3 separate regions of the Homo sapiens genome follow, and all the other regions are linked to region 2. Evidence: promoter capture Hi-C in 16 types of primary human blood cells and fetal thymus (Javierre and others, 2016). All regions are on one chromosome and are shown on one strand. The core of a region is centred on a gene start or on the middle of the fragment in contact, and the rest is flanking DNA. Distances in the headings are between cores, read along the strand shown. Region 1 holds the start of EPHX4 (epoxide hydrolase 4). Region 2 holds the start of GFI1 (growth factor independent 1 transcriptional repressor). Region 3 overlaps BRDT (bromodomain testis associated).

What was found. Contacts are between HindIII fragments. The CHiCAGO score rates a contact against its expected background, and 5 or more counts as called.
Region 1: a contact is called between the fragment with the promoter of EPHX4 here and the fragment with the promoter of GFI1 in region 2, in 1 of 17 cell types (fetal thymus). The highest score is 6.7, in fetal thymus.
Region 3: a contact is called between a fragment that was not itself captured here and the fragment with the promoter of GFI1 in region 2, in 2 of 17 cell types (fetal thymus and megakaryocytes). The highest score is 8.5, in fetal thymus.

What each region holds. Positions count from the first base shown.
Region 1 is chr1:92,028,310-92,032,018 of GRCh38, forward strand. It overlaps EPHX4 (epoxide hydrolase 4), which reads left to right and starts at 1,676. Exons shown (of 7, transcript NM_173567.5): 1 at 1,676-2,001. The coding sequence starts at 1,771. LOC124904218 (a long non-coding RNA gene) reads right to left here and starts at 2,078. Exons shown (of 2, transcript XR_007066222.1): 1 at 1,056-2,078. RefSeq lists an enhancer at 1,375-1,876. The HindIII fragment of the contact is 12,008 bases long and covers 1-2,642 here.
Region 2 is chr1:92,485,630-92,489,242 of GRCh38, forward strand. It overlaps GFI1 (growth factor independent 1 transcriptional repressor), which reads right to left and starts at 1,296. Exons shown (of 7, transcript NM_005263.5): 1 at 1,097-1,296. RefSeq lists silencers at 1-52, 253-302, 923-1,032, 1,123-1,332 and enhancers at 1-480, 403-552, 1,453-1,502. The HindIII fragment of the contact is 3,142 bases long and covers 518-3,613 here.
Region 3 is chr1:91,995,375-91,999,075 of GRCh38, forward strand. The region is part of intron 15 of BRDT (bromodomain testis associated); the gene reads left to right. Among named protein-coding and RNA genes, the nearest start is that of EPHX4, 33 kb to the right of the region's middle. The HindIII fragment of the contact is 872 bases long and covers 1,857-2,728 here.

The DNA.
Region 1 (3,709 bases), core at 426-2,925, 460 kb before region 2:
CATAACAAATGGCAAAATACAACATATCAACACATATGTAATACGATTAAAGAGTACTGAGAGATGCCAGGCGCGGTGGCTCACACTTGTAATCCCAGCACTTAGGGAGGCTGAGGCGGGCGGTTCACGAGCTAACCTGGCTAACACGGTGAAACCCCGTCTCTACCAAAAATACAAAAAACTTAGCCGGGCATGGTGGCGGGCGCCTGTAGTCCCAGCTACTCAGGAGGCTGAGGCAGGAAAATGGCGTGAACCCGGGAGGCGGAGCTTGCAGTGAGCTGAGATGGAGATCGCGCCATTGCACTCCAGTCTAGGCGACAGAGTGAGACTCCGTCTCAAAAAATAAAATAAAAAGAGTACTGAGAGAAATGTATAGGTGCTAAATGATTGCATTAGAAATTGCAAAGGTCTCAATAAGTTCCTAACTCAAGACCCTAGAAAAAAAGAGCAAAATACAGTTAACCCTCAAACAACATGTGTTTGAACTGTGTAGGTCCACTTACACATGGATTTTCTTCCACCTCTTCCCTCCCCCTCACCCCAAGACAGGAAGATCAACCTCCCTTCTTCTTTCTCCTCCTCAGCTTACCTAACCTGATGATGACAAGGATGAACACTCTTAAGATAATCCACTTCCACTTAATGAATAGTAAATGTATTTTCTCTTCCTTATGATTTTAACATTTTTCTTAATTATAAAGATACAGTATGTAATACATAAACATATGTTAATTGTTTTGGTCAGTAGTAGGCTATTAGTACTTAAGTTTGGGGGAACTCAAAAGTTATACATGGATTTTCAGATGTGAAAGGGTTCAGCAACCCTAACCCCCCGCATTGTTCAAAGGTCAATTGTATAACTCACACATGCTGAAGTAAATTCAAAATTGTACAGCCACTTTGGAAACCAGTTTGACAGTTTCTCATAAAAAATGAACACTTAATACCTGACCCGGTGATTGGGAAAAGGCTTAATGAAATTCTAACAGTGAACTGGACGATAGAAGAGGTCAGGACAAGAGTGGCCATGTCGGTGCTGAGGCTGAGATACCTACCGAGGACTGTCACTCTCACGGCTTCCAGCCCTTCGACGAACTCTCAGGTGTGTGGCCTTCTGGCCAGGCTTCTGCCGCGTCACGTTGTTGAAGCATTCGTTGTATCCCTGGGGTTGCAGCTCTCTGTAAGTTTGCTGTGGCTGAACCAGGCAAGGCATAGGCGGATTTCTACAGAAATTATGATTCCACGAAAGATTTTGAGAAGAGGAAGGCTGGTATCTTTCAGAGTGCAGAGTGATTTTGCACTCTAAAGAATCTCTTTGGGTGTAATAGCATGGAAGTTTGTCGCTGACCTGTGTCCCTGAACTATGACACACGAATATGTGGGCTTAGAAATAGTTTTGCTTGATACATTGAGAACAACAAAGAAGACTGAGTGGCGCTACCTTCTTTGGTGCCCAGGATGGTTTGGGAAAGTCTCGCCTTCATCCTCCCCCACAGTTTTGCGATTTTGAAACGGGATCTCGCTCTCCGCGGAAGACAGCCAAGCTCTGCACCCCGGCCTGGCCCGCCGCACCCCGCAGGCCCGGCTCTCCCCTGCGCGCTCCGGGCTGGGCGCGGCGCGTGTGCGGAGCCGCCGCGGTGACACGGAACGCCGGCCGCCCCGGGCCGGGGGAGGCGCGCGTCGAGAGGCGACGGCGGGCTGGCCTGGCGCGCTGCGGCGCTCGCTCACCCGCTCCCGAGGAAGGGCAGTGGGCCCCGCCGCCGCCTCCCAATGGCGAGGCTGCGGGATTGCCTGCCCCGCCTGATGCTCACGCTCCGGTCCCTGCTCTTCTGGTCCCTGGTCTACTGCTACTGCGGGCTCTGCGCCTCCATCCACCTGCTCAAACTTTTGTGGAGCCTCGGCAAGGGGCCGGCGCAGACCTTCCGGCGGCCCGCCCGGGAGCACCCTCCCGCGTGCCTGAGCGACCCCTCCTTGGGCACCCACTGCTACGTGCGGATCAAGGTGAAGGGCCGCGCGGGCCTGGCGGGAGCGGGAGGGAGCGTGACCGCCGCGAGGGTGGGGGGCTCCGGGCTTCTCCTTCCGAGACGCTGGCTCAGCGTCCCCTAGTGTCCTGGCAGGAGGGGAGGAGGGGTTGGGTCCCTGTGTGTCGTGTGTGTGTGTGTGTGTGTGTGTGTGTGAGAGAGAGAGAGAGAGAGAGAGATACAGATAAACAGCACTCGGTCTTTGCAGGCACCTTGATTGGTTTCTGAATGTGGAACTTCTCTAATCAGGGGCCTCTTATATTACTGCCCCCCGGCGCCACAACAACCCAGAATAAACCTGCTCTTTTTCCTACTGCAAGGGGAAGCTGTCTCCTGTCACCCTTTTGCCCTTTAGAGCTCAGATCAGCTGTAGAGAATTGTTCCTCGTGGCATCCTAATGTCTCAGGAGGCTGTTCTTGCCCAATTTTAGAGATAATAAGAGTAAACAGTCAGTCTTTGGGAGTCATGAGTTTATTATGATCACAGACGACTTAGGTTGCATGAAACAATAAGTAAATTGTGTGTGTTGTGGGGAGGAATGCATACTTATGAAGTCAGGGACCAAAGAAAGGAATGGAATAAAAGGTAAATCCAGCCATGCCTGCAGACGCTAATTGTTCAAGCTTCCTCACAGCCCACAAATATTCTGTTTCCTGAGGCTCCAGGTGGTGAAGGGAAATAGTTCCCGTGATACACCCTGCAGTCTGACTCACAGGCCTTTCAAACCCAGCCTCATAAGAGGGGATGTTTATGTCACCAAGTCCTTATTTCCTGTTAGGAGCTAAATTGCCCCGCAGCTGAAGTTCAGAAGGGCAAGAGAACTTCTTTCTTGCCTGGGGTCGACATGAGAATTAAATAGGTTAATATTTATAAAAACAAACACGAAAAACTTAGAACAATGCCTGATGCATAGTCAGTGCAATAAAGTATCTGTTAATTAAATCCATTGCAGTGCCCATAACATTTAATCCTCCAAGACTCACCACCAATAAAAAAAGTTATTGAACCTCTAGGAAGCCATCGTGCAGCTGAGGGTAAAGTCAGATTTGTTATCTCTGTTCAACCTGAGGGGTAAAAGTAGTATAAGAACCATCTGGAATTCCATAAAACACTTTTCCCCTCGCTCTGGCCGCCTAAAGAGCTTCCCCAGAGACAGAGAACCGAGTGGAAAGAGCATTGTCCTGGGAGTTAGGACAAGATGGAGATTCTGGTCACAGCCCTGCTCTCAACCATTTTATGACTCATGTTACCATCTTTGGGCCTCATCTTCTGAATCTGCAAAATGATTCTTTCACATCTGAAAACTCAGTTGCTTGAGTTGCCTGCTATAAAAACCCAATGTCTGTGTTTAGCTTTTGGTTCTTTTTGTTTCCTAGCTTGCTTGCTTTCAGAGATTTTTATTCCTGCTGTTCCCTCTACTTTCCTCAATTCAGCCTGCTTAGTATTTGCTTGAATTCCTGACTCATTCCCATGTTTTTTTAATTTTCCTTGGGTTTTCTTGTCTCCTACATGCAGAGTGAAGTCTTGAGCACTCAGGGCATTCTCTTATTAGAAACGCACACTGACATGACATGAGCAGGCAGCAAGGGGAACAGAACATGCAACACTCAAAATAATAATGTGGGAAGGAGAGACCTAAAAATAAGAGAAGGAGGTGTGAATTATATAACTGATGGCACAGCTCTTGA
Region 2 (3,613 bases), core at 46-2,545:
GAGGTGGGGCGGCCCCTCCGCGCGCTCAGGCCTCTCCTCACCGTCCGGGCCCAGGAAGGAGGGAGCCGAGGGCGCTAAGGGGGCGTCCTCCCGAGCGCAGCTGCCGCCGCCTCCCCACCAGATGTTTCCTTCCCTGGTGGATTTGGCTCCCCTGCCGAACCACCAGACCGCCTGCTGCGCGCCCCCAGCTCCAGATTTCCAGTCACACTGCGCGGGTCGCGCCCTAACCCAGCTGCCGGAGCTCTCTGGGCTCCCGCACGGCGGTCCGCAGCAGGTGGGAAACCGCCCGCGCCCTCTGATCGCCCCCGCAGTGCCAGTGCTCTGCGAGTCCCCGCGGCCGCCCCCACCAGGGCAGGAGGCGCAGAACAGGCTCGGCGGACCTACCTGCGGAGTCACGGCGCGGGCACCGCGCTAGGAGAGTTTTCAAACGGAATCTTGCTTTCGGGAGAGACCGCTCTATCTCTCTGACTTAAAAAAAAAAAAAATTCTCCTTCCGAGCTCAGCCCCCAAAACCACAAGCTTCACTTCCTGAGCGTTACTGAGTCGCTCGCATAGCCCTCCCAGACCTGCTCCCAACCCCCGTCGGGCGGCCGGGCGCGCTCCTTTGCGCAAGTGGCCAGGCGGTGGGGGGCCTGGCCTTTCCAGCCCGTCCCGCGCGCCCCTTAGTAGTCCTCCCAGTTCTCTCCCTGTGGGTCGGCAGGGGATGGGGGAAATTGGAGGTCCGGACACTTAGGCACTAGAAATGACTTGAAAGAAAATGAACTATTCTTGGCTCCAGGGAGACTTCCGCAGCGAGAGAAGCCACAGATTGAGGACACAGATTGACTGGCGAGAGAGGGGTGGGGGGCGCCCCGCTCCGAGGACCCTCCCCGCCCCTCAGGCCTCGGTCACCCGCCCCCCCCACCCCCGACCCCGCCGCCTCCTAGGGCTGCACCACCCCCGGGTCGGGACCGTGAATCACCGGCCCGCGGTGCCGCCGGCCTGGAGCCCGGCGAGTGGCCACGGCGTCCGCAGAGCGAAACCTGCCCCGCAGGCCCCGAAATAGCTTGTTGTGGAAACACTTGGGGATAAATACGCCCAACGAGGCTGAAAATACCTTGACACCCAATCCGAGAGGTTTGCTCATTTCCCTTCGGATTTAGGTAATGGTTAAATTTGGAAGAGGTGGGCGAGCGCCGAGCCCCCGGCGGAGAGGGCCCTGGCGGCGCGTCCCGCGGGCGCCCGGCGGGACCGGTGGGCGCACCCTCCCTGCGCGGAGCTCGCCGGCTCTCGACCGGGTCCGCTCAGCCTTCGACTAATTTCCGGTGGTCGGAGCTGCAAAATTAAAGGCCGCGCGGGGGCAGCGCCGGCGGCTGCTAGGCTGACTCCGCCCTGCCGGGGCAAGCCAGGGAGAGCGGGACCTCGCACGCGGGCTCTGCCACCGCCTGAGGTCATACCCAGGCACTGGGTGTTGGCGGGAGCAGTAAAGCGCCATAAAAGCACCACTTGGATGACTATTGCAAAGTAAGCCTTCTTCGCTCGGATTCTATGTTTCATGAGGGTAGGCACTGGATCTTCATCTTTATGTCCTAGGCGGGCTCTTAACAAAAGGCTGTGGACTGAGTAAATGAATGAGTGGGGTTAATTAACTAATTAATTATATTAATAGAACAGGGGGAAAAAACTTAAAACCTAACTCATAGATACATGAACAAATGCAGCAACCTCCAACGCTAGACTGTATGCCATGACCCATAGTGTGTGGCCTGCTGTGTATACTCAAAGCCTACACCCTTTGCTCATTGGAGTGGATGGATGTTGTAGTCATGTTACTTTTCAAAATGAATTGACTTGGATTTTGATCACAACTTCGTGCACAATAGGCCTCCAATGTCAGACATGCACAAGGAGAAGAGAGTGGTGCTCCCCAGTTCTTGCAAAATAACTACCATGTTCTAGGTTAATCTTAAATTGTTATGGGGGGGGAAGCCCTTAAAGCTCTTTTTCTAGAAACAGTTTTTAAATTATTCTTATTTTGCACTGTAAATTTAAAATTTTGCAGGGAATATTTGGTTAGTATAGCAGTGCTTCGAGCATGTATTAATAAATTATACGTTTTGTTAAGCAATGACCTGTGCCCCTATTGTATGCCAGGCGCTGGGCAAATCTTGTCTGCCTAGCTGTCCTCCTTCATTTGCTCAACACATCCCTTCTTTATATATAAATGCAGAGGCAAGCAATTTTGGTCAGAAAGGAAAATTAAGGACATTTTGTTAATATTTTATTTCTTGTGTGCTTTGTCCTGGCCTAAGGTATAAAAATCTCACAGTAGTGCAAAAACAAATCTTTCCCTTATTCCCTTCTCTCCTACTCGATAGCAGAAAAAAACAAATTTTTAGAATAAAATTATAAATGGGACAAAATAAAATTTCTTATCAACCAAGTTCTAGAGAAATGGTTGGACTATTTCCTTTGCATATTAGCAAGTTCAAAGTCAAAATTTCTCGAAAAGGTGCTGTGACTATTTTATAGTTTAGTTGAGTGTTGCTGTTTGAAGTCTCAGAAAACTTGAGGGAGCCCATGAAGGGGGCAGATAAGCACCTTGAGCAGTGAGCAGTATCACCTTAGAATAAATCCCTTTCATTCAGATTTAGTCTAGTCATTTTGCTTTTCATTTGCCCTTCACAGACTCTTGGGATTTCTGAGTTTGAAAAAGAAAACTGAGAACTGGAACAGGGACACGCAGAAAGGAGCAGGTGGGAGGGAGATGGCACTGAATTTCCCTTTATGTCTTTTACATGTTGAACCATGTGTATGTAGTACTAACTCAAATAAATAAATACACATTTAAAAAGTATTTAACAAGTATTCAACACGTTTAAAAAGTATTTAACAATACTTTTTAACAACACAACACTCCCGGGTGTATAGTGTTGAAGTGTGACTCCCACACTTGGGGAAGAATAGGAGAAAGGTAAGAAGAGGGGAACCCAGAGAGGTTAAGAACCTTGCCAAGGACAGTGAAGAGCTAGGACTAGAAATAACGATACAATGAACCCATCTCTGACTTCCTGCTACTCCAAACTACCTCTTGCTTCTATTAAACTAAGGGCAAAGAGAATAAGCCACCCCTCCATGAACATTTTTAGAAGCTACAAATACTCCCTCTCCCTCCATATATTCCTTTGGAATTGAAATAGATCTAATGGTAAGCAAAATGTATACCTGAGGCACAATTTTCTATAAATAGGGTCTTTCCAAAGGAATAATTTTACATTTACTGCCTTTTCAATAATTTGAAACTAATTGTTTCAAATATTTAGAAACTAATTGTTTCTAAATAGCAATAATAATGTATCTGTCGATGCCAAATAACAACTGACCTTCTCATACCACAAACATTTCCAAGCCTTGGCCAGTAGCCCATTTATTTCAAGCAGCCTCTCATAGATCAGAATTTCCCTACAACAGAAGATTTGAGACATTAAAAAAAAAAAAGTGGAGATGGAGTCTCGTTATGTTGCCTAGGCTGGTCTCAAACTCCTGGCCTCAAATGATCCTCCTGCCTCAGCCTCCCAAAATGCTGGGATTACAGGCGTGAACCACTGTGCCTGGCTGAGACATTTTCAAAAAG
Region 3 (3,701 bases), core at 1,043-3,542, 490 kb before region 2:
GCTTTCAGTTTAAAATCTCCCTACTATTCTGTGTGTGTGTGTGTGTGTGTGTGTGTGTGTGTGTGTGTGTGTGTGTGTGTGTGTTGTTTAAATTTTTTTTTGAGATGGAGTCTCGCTCTGTCTTGCAGGTGGGAGTGCAGTGGCACAATCTTGGCTCATTGCAACCTCCGCAATGATTCCCGGGTTTAAGCGATTCTCCTGCCTCAGCCTCCTGAGTAGCTGGGATTACAGGCATGTGCCACCATGCCCAGCTAATTTTTTTGTAGTTTTTTTTTTTTTTGAGACAGAGTTTCATTCTTGTTGCCCAGGGTGGGTGCAGTGGTGCAATCTTGGCTCACTGCAACCTCCGTCTCCCAGGTTCAAGTGATTCTCCTGTCTCAGCCTCCTGAGTAGCTGTGATTACAGGCATGTACCACCACGCCCAGCTAATTTTTTGTCTTTTTAGTAGAGACAGGGTTTCACCATGTTGGTCAGGCTGGTCTCGAACTCTTGACCTCAGATGATCCGCTTGCCTCAGCCTCCCTATTCTGTGTTTGAATATTCCATTTTGTCTTTAATTAAAGTTATATCTCTTCATTGTGGGGAAGGGAATGGAGATCAATGGAGAAAATATCTAAGGCCACACTGGAGGGCATTCCAGGAAGAAGAATAAACAAATATCCAAAGTATGAAATATTTATGTCTACTCTTTTTTTGAAATACATTTTCAAGATACTTGGAGGATAACAGAAGATATGATAGCTATAGGTCATGAGTTACCTAGAATACCAGTGCCATTAATTTGTATACAACAAATTATATACAAATTTGTATACTTTGTGTACAACAAGGAGCTTTGTATAGGAAGCATAATCAGATTTTATTCAATTTTATTTTATTTATTTATTTTTTTGACACAGAGTCTCGCCCTGTTGCCCAGGCTGGAGTGTAGTAGCACAACCTCTGCTCACCGCAACCTCTGCCTCCCGGGTTCAAGCAATTCTCATGCCTCAGCCACCCAAGTAGTTGGGATTACAGGCATGCACCACCATATGCGGCTAATTTTTGTACTTTTTGTAGAGACGATTTCACCATGTTGGCCAGGCTGGTCTTGAACTCCTGGACTCAAGTGATCCACCCACCTTGGCCTCCCAAAGTTCTGGGATTACAGGCGTGAGCCACCACACCCAGCCCCAGGTTTTATAATAGGGAAAAAATTGCTGCTTACCATGTAGAGGATGGATTAAGATGATGCTCTGATGTAGTTAGGATTAAGTAAGGACACTGAATGCTGTAGTCTAGGAAATAAATTATTAGGACCAAAACTAACACAGCAACTGTAGAAAGCATGTGGATATATAAGGTATTTTTGTGGCAGAATTGATATACTTCGTTAGGATGAATGAGCTACTGGGAGATTATCTAATAGTTGGATTGAAAACAGGGGACAGAACTCATTTGGCACATGTTTGAGATGTTACAGAATATCTAAGTGGAAATATAAAGCTAGAAATAGGTTTCTAGAACTAACAGGGTGTAACAGGAATTAGAAATTAGGAATTAACAGTATGTAGAAGCTACTTGAAGCCATAAGAATAAATGAAAACACCCAGGAAAATCTGCAGAGCAGGAAGAGAAAAGCTTAAAGACAAAATTCTAAGAAACAAAACCTCCTCAGTAAAAGTAGAAAAAAATAGTTAAAAGAAGAGGTAATCAATGGTAGAGAAAAAGAAAAAATAGTGTAATAAAAGCCCAGGAAGATAGATTTTTTTTTTAGAAGGAAATCAAAAGTATCACATACTGCAGAGCATTTAAGTAGGATGAGGAATGGAGAGAGAGCATTACATTGGGAATGTGAGAATTTTTACTTTTGCGGAAGCTTTTTTAGTACCTGTTGTGATGGGGCAGAAACCAGATTGTTGTAAATTGAGAAGTAATGGAATTTGAGTGTAGTGAATGTAAAGCATTCTTTGAAGAACTTTGTTGGTAAAGAGGATGGAAAGATATTTGTGGCTTTAACAGGAAAATAGATTTTTTGGAGGAGTGGGCAAGATTATTTTGAGTTTTTTAATTGGAGGGATTTGAACATTTGAAGGCTCATTATAAAGAGCTAAAGTAGGAAAAAGTTACTCTTTTAACTAGAGTATGTTTTATAAGAATGCTAGGGTAGCCTTGCCCTTGAAAAGGAATAGATTATGAAAAACAAAGGTGAGAATGTAGTCAAGGTGTTCTCTTATTCCTAATTTAAGAAAACACCCTATCTATGAAAAGTCAGGCTTTTAATACCTACACCTTCAGTAAGGATCAGTTTATTATATTACTTGAAATTCTGTTTATATGATGCCTATTAGTAAGCTAATATATAAAGGAAAGTTTGGATGATGCCAGAGTAGCTGTTCTTTTGCAGTTAGCAAGATTCTCAGAAACAACATGGTTTACATTTGCCAACTGTAGGTGGCACTATGCCCAAGGGAAATTGCAAATGTATGTGAGCCATAAAATTTATAGAGACATTTTCTTTTTCTGGAGTTAAATCTCAATAGAAATAAATTTTTTGTTAAACCTTACAATTAAATGATAAAAGCAATATGTTGAAGTTTTCTTATTGGAAAAATAGTTTGACAAAATGTTAGAGTACATAAAAGATTAAAAAATGAATTTTTAAGTGTTACTGGTTTTCATCACACCTGCCCACATATGATCTCCACATGAAATGGACAATGTTGAATTTTTTTTCCTTATAAGTTGAAGCTTTTAGCCATACCCTTATCCTTATAGTTTACCCTTTCCCCTTCTCATAAAAACTTCACTAAATTGCCGCCATGAAAAGGGATGAGTTCATGTCCTTTGCAGGGACATGGATGAAGCTGGAAACCATCATCCTCAGCAAACTAATACAAGAACAGAAAACCAAACACTGCATGTTCTCACTCATAAGTGGGAGTTGAACACTGAGAGCACATGGACACAGGGAGGGGAACATCACACACTGGGGCCTGTTGGGGGATGGGGGGCTAGCAGAGGGGTAGCATTAGGAAAAATACCTAATGTAGATGACAGGTTGATGGGTACAGCAAACCACTATGGCACGTGTAACAAACCTGCACATTCTGCGCATGTATCCCAGAACTTAAAGTATAATAAAAAAATTTTTTTAAACTTCACCAAATTATATTGAGTTTTTAAAATATTTAGGCTGTTATATAAACATGAATTCATAATTGCAAATGAAAAAGTAAATCCAGGAGTTTGCTATCTCATAGGAGAAATAAACAACTGGTATATAAAGTAAAAATAATGTGCCCTGAAAGAACCTAAAGTGAAGTTTAAGGAGGTGAAGAAGGCAGAATCACCTGATGTGTTTGGCAGATACATATTTTACAGAATGAGTATCATTTGAGCTGGATAGTGCAGAAAAAAAATAAGGCTTACCTATGTTTATTTAGTATGGAAAGGCATTTGGATGGAGGAAGCAACATGAATGTGAAGGTATTTAGGCAACTCATAATTCCATGTGATTAAAGATTTGGTTGGATTAAACAGGAATGTGGAAAATTACAAAGGTAGACCAGGTTTAGATCATTTAACCCTTTAGATACTTTGGACTTAATTATAATAGCATAGTCAGTGGGGAGGCAATGAAGGTTTTTTTGAGTGAAGGTGTGCCTCTGAGTGATTAATTTGCCAATATTATTTAGGTGAGTTGAAGGAAAGGAGAATAT